Regions from separate parts of the Homo sapiens genome. Here region 2 is linked to region 1. The links are contacts of gene promoters, found by promoter capture Hi-C in blood cells and fetal thymus (Javierre and others, 2016). All regions are on one chromosome and are shown on one strand. Each heading gives the region's core, a stretch centred on a gene start or on the middle of the fragment in contact. The rest is flanking DNA. Distances are from core to core; before and after follow the strand shown.

The links. The method cuts DNA at HindIII sites, captures the fragments that hold promoters and counts their contacts. A CHiCAGO score of 5 or more calls a contact.
Region 2: a contact is called between a fragment that was not itself captured here and the fragment with the promoter of AQP10 in region 1, in 2 of 17 cell types (activated CD4 T cells and non-activated CD4 T cells). The highest score is 6.2, in activated CD4 T cells.

Annotation. Positions count from the first base shown.
Region 1 is chr1:154,318,678-154,323,562 of GRCh38, forward strand. AQP10 (aquaporin 10) reads left to right here and starts at 2,416. Exons shown (of 6, transcript NM_080429.3): 1 at 2,416-2,583; 2 at 3,256-3,382; 3 at 4,305-4,442; 4 at 4,564-4,682. The coding sequence starts at 2,479. RefSeq lists a silencer at 2,195-2,386. The HindIII fragment of the contact is 12,155 bases long and covers 1-4,885 here.
Region 2 is chr1:154,439,778-154,444,662 of GRCh38, forward strand. All of the region lies in intron 6 of IL6R (interleukin 6 receptor), which reads left to right. Among named protein-coding and RNA genes, the nearest start is that of IL6R-AS1, 36 kb to the left of the region's middle. RefSeq lists a silencer at 2,759-2,858. The HindIII fragment of the contact is 152 bases long and covers 2,363-2,514 here.

The DNA.
Region 1 (4,885 bases), core at 1,166-3,665:
GCATGAATAATCCACCTCTTGTTTAGCATATCATCAAGAAACAACCATAAACATGGGCAACCAGCAGCCCTCGGGGCTGCTCTGTCTATGGAGTAGCCATTGTTTTATTCCTTTACTTTCCTAATAAACTTGCTTTCACTTTACTCTATGGACTCGCCCTGAATTCTTTTTTTCTTTTTTTTGAGGCGGAGTCTCGTTCTGTCACCCAGGCTGGAGTGCAGTGGTGCGATCTCGGCTCACTGCAACCTCCACCTCCCGGGTTCATGCCATTCTCCTGCCTCAGCCTCCCAAGTAGCTGGGACTACAGGCGCCCACCACCATGCCCGGCTAATTTTTTTGTATTTTTAATGGAGACGGGGTTTCACCATGTTAGCCAGGATGGTCTCAATCTCCTGACTTTGTGATCCCGCCTTGGCCTCCCAAAGTGCTAGGATTACAGGCATGAGCCGCCGCACTCAGCCTGAATTATTTCTAGTGTGAGATCCAAGAACCCTCTCTTGGGATCTGGATTCAGACCCCTTTCCTGTAACAAGATTAGGCACCAGGAGAAACTGACACACATGGATGATATAACAGATGCCTAAATGGATCCTATGGGGGAACTGGAGCTGGAACAGCCCTTTAGAGTTGTCGCAAAGTGAGGCAAAGAGGCTAGACTTTTATATCCCTCCATCAATCAGTGTTTGACATGGGCCCCATAGGAGGGCATGTAACCTTCGGTGAGGCATCTTTCTGACTTGAAGGGCATTGCCCAATGAGGGAGGTAGCTATGTGGTATCAGCAGCTGGTATTTCCTACATGTAGCGAATGGGCATATTGGCTCCCAAGGGGGAATCTGGGTGGAGCACTATAGTATCCATTAAACCTAGTAAAGAAATATTATTTCTTTACTAGTCACACAGATGTGCCCAGGACAGTGGTAGAGCCCACAGGGTTACATAAATCATAATGGTAGCCCTCAAGAACTTCATAAACTGTATATGGTATTTTAAAAAGTTGCATATTGTCTGTTTCCACCTACTAGAACATAAGCTCTAGGAGGGCAGAGACTATGTTTTGTTCACCACTGTTTCTCCAGTGTCTAGACGTAGATTCTTTGAATGCATTTAATTGGAGCCTTGAGATATGAAGAAGTAGGATGCGGTTACTTCATGCAGAGCAAGAGTGGCATGCACCCAGAGAAGGCCAGGTGGAGCTCAGCATGAGTGTGAAGGCCTCATGTCAAGCCATGTCAGGGGACACAAAGATGGAGTATTCTCTAACCTATGTGACACTCGGCATAAGGGAAGTACAAGCACTCAATATGTGAGTTTCATTCCCACAGTCTGTGGTCTTTAGCCCAGTCTTTCCAGATGCCTATTGAGTTCTTCAAGCATCCAAATGGTTTGGGGTAAGGCTTCAGGTTCTAAATGAGAGGCTTTGTGGGTTACCAGCTGGAGAGTCAGAAAATCTGGATTTGAATTCACTCAGCCATGAAATAATTGTGTGATCTTGGGCCGGGCACGGTGGCTCACGCTTGTAATCCCAGCACTTTGGGAGGCCAAGGAAGGTGAATCACTAGAGGTCAGGAGTTTGAGACCAGCCTGGCCAACATGGTGAAACCCCGTCTTTTTTTTTTTTTTTTTTTTTGAGACAAAGTCTCGCTCTGTTGCCAGGCTGGAGTGCAGTGGCACAATCTCGGCTCACTGCAACCTCCGCCTCCCTGGTTCAAGTGATTCCCCTGCCTCAGCCTCCCGAGTAGCTGGGACTACAGGCGTGCACCACCACGCTAATTTTTTTGTATTTTAGTAGAGATGGAGTTTCACCATGTTGGCCAGGATAGTCTTGATCTCCTGACCTCGTGATCTGCCTGCCTCGGCCTCCCGAGAAACCAAGTCTTTACTAAAAAATATCAAAATTAGCCAGGTGTGATGGACCTGTAGTCCCATCTACTTGGGAGGCTGAGGCAGGAGAATTGCTTGAACCTGGGAGGTGGAGGTTGCAGTAAGCTGAGATGGTGCCACTGCACTCCAGCCTGGGGGACAGAGCAAGACTCTCTCTCAGAAAAAAAAAAAAAAAAAGTTTGATCTTGGGGAGTTCTAAGGCCCACTAGCCTCATCTGTAGAATGGAAGCAATAGTACTACTTTGCAGAGCTGACTTCAGGACCAAGAGATCTAATGTCTATGAAGCGGGGTACTTCCTTCTATTTGTCAGGATGGGGGAGGCTAGTCCTGTGATGACTGGGAATGAAGGGTAAAAGAGACAGAGGTTGGGTAAACTCCAGGCTCTGTGTTCATAGCCTGCTCCCAGACATTCTCTTGTTATCTCTCTGTTTCCTAGCCTACACACGTGCACAGACACGTAGCTGCTGTTCAGGAACTGAGCTAATGGTTTTAAAGTCTGTTCCTTATCTTTGCTGGAGGCAGGCAGTAGCTGTGCAGTGACAGTGTGCCTATGCAGACAGAGGGAGCAGTGAATAGCAATAGGGTGTTTCCACCATGGTCTTCACTCAGGCCCCGGCTGAAATCATGGGCCACCTCCGGATACGCAGCCTCCTGGCCCGGCAGTGCCTGGCAGAGTTTCTGGGTGTGTTTGTACTCATGGTAGGTAGGATCACTGCGGGAAGGAAAGAAGGGGGTTGGGCAAAAGTTCCTGGCTCCTTCTGTTGTCCTTATCTCTTTCTCTTGGTGTCCCCCTTCCTCTCAACTCCCTATCACTTTTCGTTTTTATCCTCTCGTCTCTCCTAATCTCCTTTCCTCTCCTACTTCATCATTTTTATTCTTGTCATTTTTATTCTTTCTTTAATAACAAGTGTATCATAGTTCTTGAAACATAATTTTTCTCTCTTCAGTTTCCCATTTTTATGAAAGACCATTTTCATGGTAAGACCAATGTGCTTTATTATACTTGGCCTGATGATTGTATAAAGTGCAGCAAGAATAATTATTTTTCACATAGGCTTTTAAAATTGGCTTTGATGGAACTCTTCCATAGAAAGAATCTTAGATAAGACTTTTTAAAGCTGAGCCCTGCCATGGGTTTGTACCCTCAAATGCCTATGAGTTGGGTAAATTCTTTTCTTTTTTCCCACATTCTTTCCCTTTCTTCTTCCTCCACTTTCCCCATTTCTTTTCCCTTCCCTCCTTCTGCTTTTCTCCTTCCCTTGCTTGTCTTCTGTGCTCATTCATCTCCTTGGCTGCTCCCCTGGCCTTCCCAACCTTTCTCCCTGTTGGTCTCCTGGGCTCCCTGTTCCTCATCTCTCCTCTTCTCAGCAGCTCCTCACCCAAGGAGCTGTGGCCCAGGCTGTCACCAGTGGAGAAACCAAAGGCAACTTCTTCACCATGTTTCTGGCTGGCTCTCTGGCCGTTACGATAGCCATCTACGTGGGTGGTAACGTCTCAGGTGAGGAGGGTGGGGTCTGGTCATCAGAGCACGTGGGATGTGCATGCCAGTTTGTCTGTCTGGTGATGGTGGAAACGCAAATCCTTCTGTGACTCGTGGACATTATCCCCTTGAACAGTGTCCCAGACTGAAATAAGCCTTTGGCCCCACCAGCCCCTCCTCTTTCTGTATCTCTCCATCCTGCTTCCTCACACTAATGCTTGGCTCACCTAGACAGAAATCAATGGCAGGGCACGAAGGGCAGCTGCTATCCTCTTGTATCCCCCACCTGAAGTCCTCTGGGGGCTCATCTCCACTCAGGACCTCTCCTGTTTGTACCCCAGATACACACTGCATCGGTGTGCTTGGGTGGAGCCTTGAGACATAGTGTGTTGCTGTGGAAAAAGCAGACAGACCTAGGTTCCAACTTTGGATTCACAGTGTCTTCTTCTTTTTTTTTTTTTTTTTTCTTTTTTTTTGAGATGGAGTTTCACTCTGTTGCCCAGGCTGGAGAGCAGTGGTGTGATGTCTGTTCACTGCAACCTCTGCCCCTGGGTTCACGCGATTCTCCTGCCTCAGCATCCCGAATAGCTGATTTTACAGGCACCTGCTACCACGCCTGGCTAATATTTGTGTTTTTAGTGGAAACGGGGTTTCACCATGTTGGCCAGGCTGGTCTGGAATTCCTGACCTCAAGTGATCCACTGCCTCGGCCTCCCAAAGTGCTGGGATTACAGGCGTGAGCCACTGTGCCTGGCCCACAGTGTGACTTTGCTAAGTCACTTAACATCTGTAACATCTGGAGCCTCAATTTCCTAAGCTGTGTGATGAGAATTACACTATCTGCCTTAAGAGCTATAGGAAGGAGCAGTAGTGTTGTCTGGTGACAATGCCTGGCAGTGACACTTAATAGATGCTCTTTTTCTTTCCTTGATACTTGAAGGGGCCCACCTGAATCCAGCCTTCTCCCTGGCCATGTGCATCGTTGGACGCCTCCCCTGGGTCAAGCTCCCCATTTACATCTTGGTGCAGTTGCTGTCTGCTTTCTGTGCTTCGGGAGCCACCTATGTTCTCTACCATGGTGACAGAGGGAACAGAGGGAGCTGTGCCTTGAGAGCACCTGTGGGTGGGCAGGGGTGCCTCAGAATGGTTTTGGATGAATGAGCAAAGAGGGAAATCCTGGGTGTTCCCTTCCTCCACAGATGCCCTACAGAACTATACAGGTGGGAACCTGACAGTGACTGGCCCCAAGGAGACAGCCTCCATTTTTGCCACCTATCCTGCCCCCTATCTGTCCCTGAACAATGGCTTCCTGGATCAGGTAAGTGTGAGGGGGAGACCTGGGGACACTACTTTGGTCCTGTTCCTCGGCACCCCAGCCTATTGTTCAGTCTCTGGGTGGAGTGTGGGTTGGGTCTATCTTGGCACTCCCCACCATCCCCAACTGCCTGTGTTGCACAAAGCCAGATGACATGGAATATTTGGATGAGAGAGGGCAGATGGAGCACCTGGCAGCTGACAGGG
Region 2 (4,885 bases), core at 1,189-3,688, 120 kb after region 1:
ACCACCAGTCTACTTGCTTTTTCTGTGAGTTTGACTACTCTAGTACTTCATTTGCTTGCTTGCTTGCTTGCATGCCTGCCTACCTGCCTGCCTGCCTTCCTTTGTCTCTTTCTGTCTCTCTCTTTTTCTCTTTTTTTTTGAGACGGAGTCTCACTCTGTCACCCACCCAGGCTGGAGTGCACTGTCGTGACCTTGGCTCACTGCAACCTCTGCCTCCCGGGTTCAAGCAATTCTCCAGCCTTAGCCTCCTGAGTAGCTGAGATTACAGGCGCCTGCCACCATGCCTGGCTAATTTTTGTATTTTTTGTAGAGACAAGGTTTCACCATGTTGCCCAGGCTGCACTCTAGGTACTTCAAATAAGTGGAATCAGAGAGTATTTGTCCTTTGGTGACTGACTTATTTCACTTAGCATAATGTCCTCAAGGTTTATTCATGTGGTATAACATGTGTCAGACTTTCCTCCCTTTTTAAGGCTGAATAATATTCCATTGTGTAGAGATACCACATTGTGTTGATTCATTCATTTGTCAGGGGACACTGGGTTTGCTTCCCCATTTTGGTTGTGCATAATGCTGCTATGAACACGGGTGTAAAATATCTGTTTAGATTCCTGCTTTCAGTTCTTTTGTGTATATACTCAGAATTATAATTGTGGCATTATATGGTAATTCTATTTTTAAATTTTCATGGAAATGCCATGCCGTTTTCCACAGTGGCTGCACCATTTTACACTTACACCAGAGTGTATAAGGGTTCCAGTTTCTCCACATCCTTGCCAACATTTGTTATTTTTCATTTTGCTGCAATAGTCCTCCTTATGGATGTGAAGTGTTATCTCACTGTGGTTTTGATTTGCATTTCCCTAATGATTAATGTCTTTTTTTTTTTTTTTTTGAGACAGAGTCTCACCCTGTCACCCAGTCTGGAGTGCAGTGGGGCGATCTTGGCTCACTGTAACCTCCACCTCCTGGGGTTCAAGTGATTCTCGTGCCTCAGCCTCCCGAGTAGTTGAGATTGGCATGCACCACCACACCCAGCTAATTTTTGTATTTTTAGCAGAGACGGGGCTTTGCCATGTTGGCGAGGCTGCTCTTGAACTCCTGACCTCAAGTGATCTGCCCATCTATGCCTCCCAAAGTACTGGGATTACAGGCGTGAGCCACCACACCCAGGCTGAGGATCTTTTCATGTGCTTCTTGGCCATTCATATATCTTTGGAGAAATATCTATTCAAATAGAAAGTTCTTTCTTATGTGAACCTAACTCTGGCCTCACTGGCCCTTGCTCTGTTCTCAGGGATAACCAATGACAAATTTCCTAGTCTGCTCTCTCTGAATTCTTTTGGAGTTCCCAGACCTGCATCTGCTTGGGCTCCTCTTCCCAGGCTGTTACATGAGATGGTCTGTGAATTCTTCACCTTTCTGGCCCCCTTCCCCTGAATCTGGTCTCATTTGTGGATGTCCCTCTTTAAGTTGCTGACACTCTCCTTCTATTGGAAGATGGTGTGGTGGGGGCTGTCTGGCCAGCACTGGGTACGGTCTCCACTTTCCAGCCTCAGGTGGATGTGCTTCTTTGGCATAGACACAGCTTCTGTGGGAGCTCAGATAGAACAGTCGGTTTCTTCTCATGTAAGGAGCGGAAGACTTTGAGCCCTCCACCCTATGCATGTGTGGTTTGAGGCAGGGGAAGTCTTCAAAACCCAGTTGTGAATATATCCAAGAAAGAAACCTGCTGCTCCCCTCTCTGCTGAGGGAAGAGCAAGAGGAACTTGGATGATTTTGACGCAAGAGGGGGATTCAGGTTGGAAATTGGCGGGCAGTTCTGAAAAATAAGGGGAAGGTTAGAGCACTAGGTGAGGTGTGTGTTATGGACCACGGTTATTTGGCTGTTAGGGACGCATCAGTGTACTAAACACTGTATCACCGTGTGGGGTGAGCTTACCCACCCCAAGGACCTTCAGCTCTCAAGGCCCAGACAGACAGGATGCACCTGCCTCCCAGACTAGGTGTGGGAGTGGTGGCCTTTGGGAGACACAGAGGTCCTGGGAAGCACCTGGGAGTCAGGTTGTATGACACTGGTAAAGTTAGTTCAGCTCTCAGAGCCTCAGTCTTGTCATCGGTAAAGTAGAGATGATAGCACCAATCTTGTTCCTTTCAGAGAGTTTTTGTGAGTCTGATGAAAAAATATTCTTTAGAAATGCTAAAGCATACTGCATTTGTAAGGGGATCAGCAATTACAGGACAGTGCTGGTTCTTGGGAGGAGAGTGGGACCAGGGGCATCCCAGAATCACTATCCTGGATGCCATCGTGAACTCACTGCATTGGAATCTGGAGGAGGAAGTAGAGTGGGTGGTTTGAGAAAGCTTTCCTGGTGGTTTTAGTATGTGCTTGAGGGGGCTGGAGGAGGGTGCGTGCCCCACTGTAGTATGTCTAATACGTAATAGATGGTGTTCACAGCACGATAAGGCCGTAAGCAGACTGTTCTGTTGGGGCAGTTTAGAGATAGCAGGAAAAGCTTCATGGAGGAGGTGACAATTGAATTATGTCTTGAAGGATGTGTAGGAGGGTCCCAGACAGAAAATGGGGATTGTAGGCAGAGTACAAAGGCACGGAGCTGTGAGCAAGGGGAGGGTGGCAGAGAGCTGCTTGGTGAGGCCGACACGTGTGTGGGTGGGTGGTCTGAGTGGGACAGGTGGAGGCCGGCCTTGGTGGGCCCCTGTAGGAGTGGAAGTGGAATGCCATAGAGTGGGGCTCTGGAGCCTGGACTTCAGCAGGTGCTGCCCCCTTGAGGCTGGGGCCTGGCCCCCCGCACAGACTGTAGCCCAGGATAGCCTTTTGTATGAAGTTGGGGGTCCCAGGGTCACTCTGTCTTAGCCCTGCTTTGGCCAGCAAGGCCAGCACGGTCGGCAGCTTTCTCTCAAGCGGGAGTTCTGAATTTATCCTCTCCTGATGGGAGTTCTCCCTGTCACATCAACATTGAGTCTGGGGGAATCACAAAATCATTTTCTTCTTTTTTTTTTTTTTCAGAGATGGTATCTCATTCTGTTGCCCAAGCCGGAGTGCAGTGGCATAATCATAGCTCACTCCAGCCTTGAACTCCTGCCTCAGCCTCTGAGTAGCTAGGACTATAGGCATGCATCACGATGCCCAGCTAATTTTTTAAAAAATATTTTACAGAGATGAGGTCACCCTATGTTGCACAGGCCTTGAGTGATCCTCCTGCCTCAGCCTCCCAAAGCTCTGGGATTTATAGCCATGAGCCACTGTGCCAGGCTGGAGCCCCTTTTCAAAGAGGGCGTGGGGCAAAATGCCTGGGAAAAGCCCATTAGGTATAAGGGGGTTATTCCTTGCTTCTCACAAATAATCCCTTTAACTCCCTCTCCTATTCCCCAAGAATGGGAATCACACCTGTTGGAGGAGGTGATACCAAAGGTTTGCATTTGCACATGAGGGGGTGCCCTGAAGCCAGGACTGGGCGGTCAGTGCCTCCAGCTACACGTTATCTTCTCAAACTCTTTGGCCATCCATTCTGGAGGAGTTTGTTTTGTTCCTCTCTGCAGCACTCCCAAGTGGGACATTCTGGGGTTAAAGAGCCTTGGTTACACATTTCCGGAGAGATTTTGCCCTGTTCACTTATCCATATGGCATCCCTGAATTCCCTCTCTGCCCTGTTTTCTGCAGCTTTCTGGAACATTCCACTGGGGCCCCGCCCACTTCCACTGCATCACCTGCCACTTTGTGCAGAGCACTGGCTCTGGAGTCAGGCAGCATTGGGTCTAGTTGCTGCCCTTGCCCTTGACTAGCACGACCCTGGGGAAGTACCTCACTGAGACTCAGTTTGCTTATTTGTCAAATGGGAATAATAATGCCTGCCTCAAAAAACCCAAACCCCAGCCTTGCTGGGTTGTGAGGCTTCAGTGAGGTGAGAAGCAATTAGCACAGAGCCTGGCACATGACAAGGGTGCAATAAATGCCAGCATGACTGCCTTTCACCCGTATCTCCTGCCAAGCCTGTCTCTCGAGCTTTGGATTCATGTCTTCAACTTGGCCCAGACTTCTGGCCAGATCCTCCCTCCTGTGCCAGGTGCTCCGCATGACCCAAACCAAACATATCACACCCCTCACAGATCTCCCTGCCCTGCTTGTCCAGGGGACACCCCACCCACCCAGCTACCCAGCCAGGAGCTTGCACATCGCACCAAATGTCTCTGCCTTGGTTTGGGTTCTTGCCACATCTCAATAGCATCTAGCAGTCAGCCATTCTGTTGCACTCCACTCTTCGTGCCCCTCTCCACGACCCTCCTCCCTCATCCTCGCATTGCCTATCCGCCTGACATCCTTGTGCACAACTGGGTGATTCCTAAACGTTGGGATTTCACGGGTCTGTAAAATTTCAAAAACAATTCTGGGGACCAATTAAAGTTGCTAGCTTTTTTTTTTTTTTTTTGAAACGGAGTTTCGCTCTTGTTGCCTAGGCTGGAGTGCAATGGCGTGATCTCAGCTCACCGCAACCTCCACCTCCTGAGTTCAAGCAATTCCCCTGCATCAGCCTCCTGAGTAGCTGGGATTACAGGCATGCGCCATCATGCCCGGCTAATTTTGTATTTTTAGTAGAGACGGGGTTTCTCCATGTTGGTCAGGCTGGTCTTAACTCTTGACCTCAGGTGATCCACCCACCTCGGCCTCCCAAAGTGCTGGGATTACAGGCATGAGCCACCGTGCCCGGCTGGTTGCCAGCTTTTAATTTTGCTAAGTAAGGACATAAAATGTAACAAGTAAGTGATAAATAACTATTAGCATTTACCATCACCATAATTTCATAAAAGAAAGGATGCTTGGTCAGGCGTGGTGGCTCAGGCCTATAATCCCAGCACTTTACGAGGC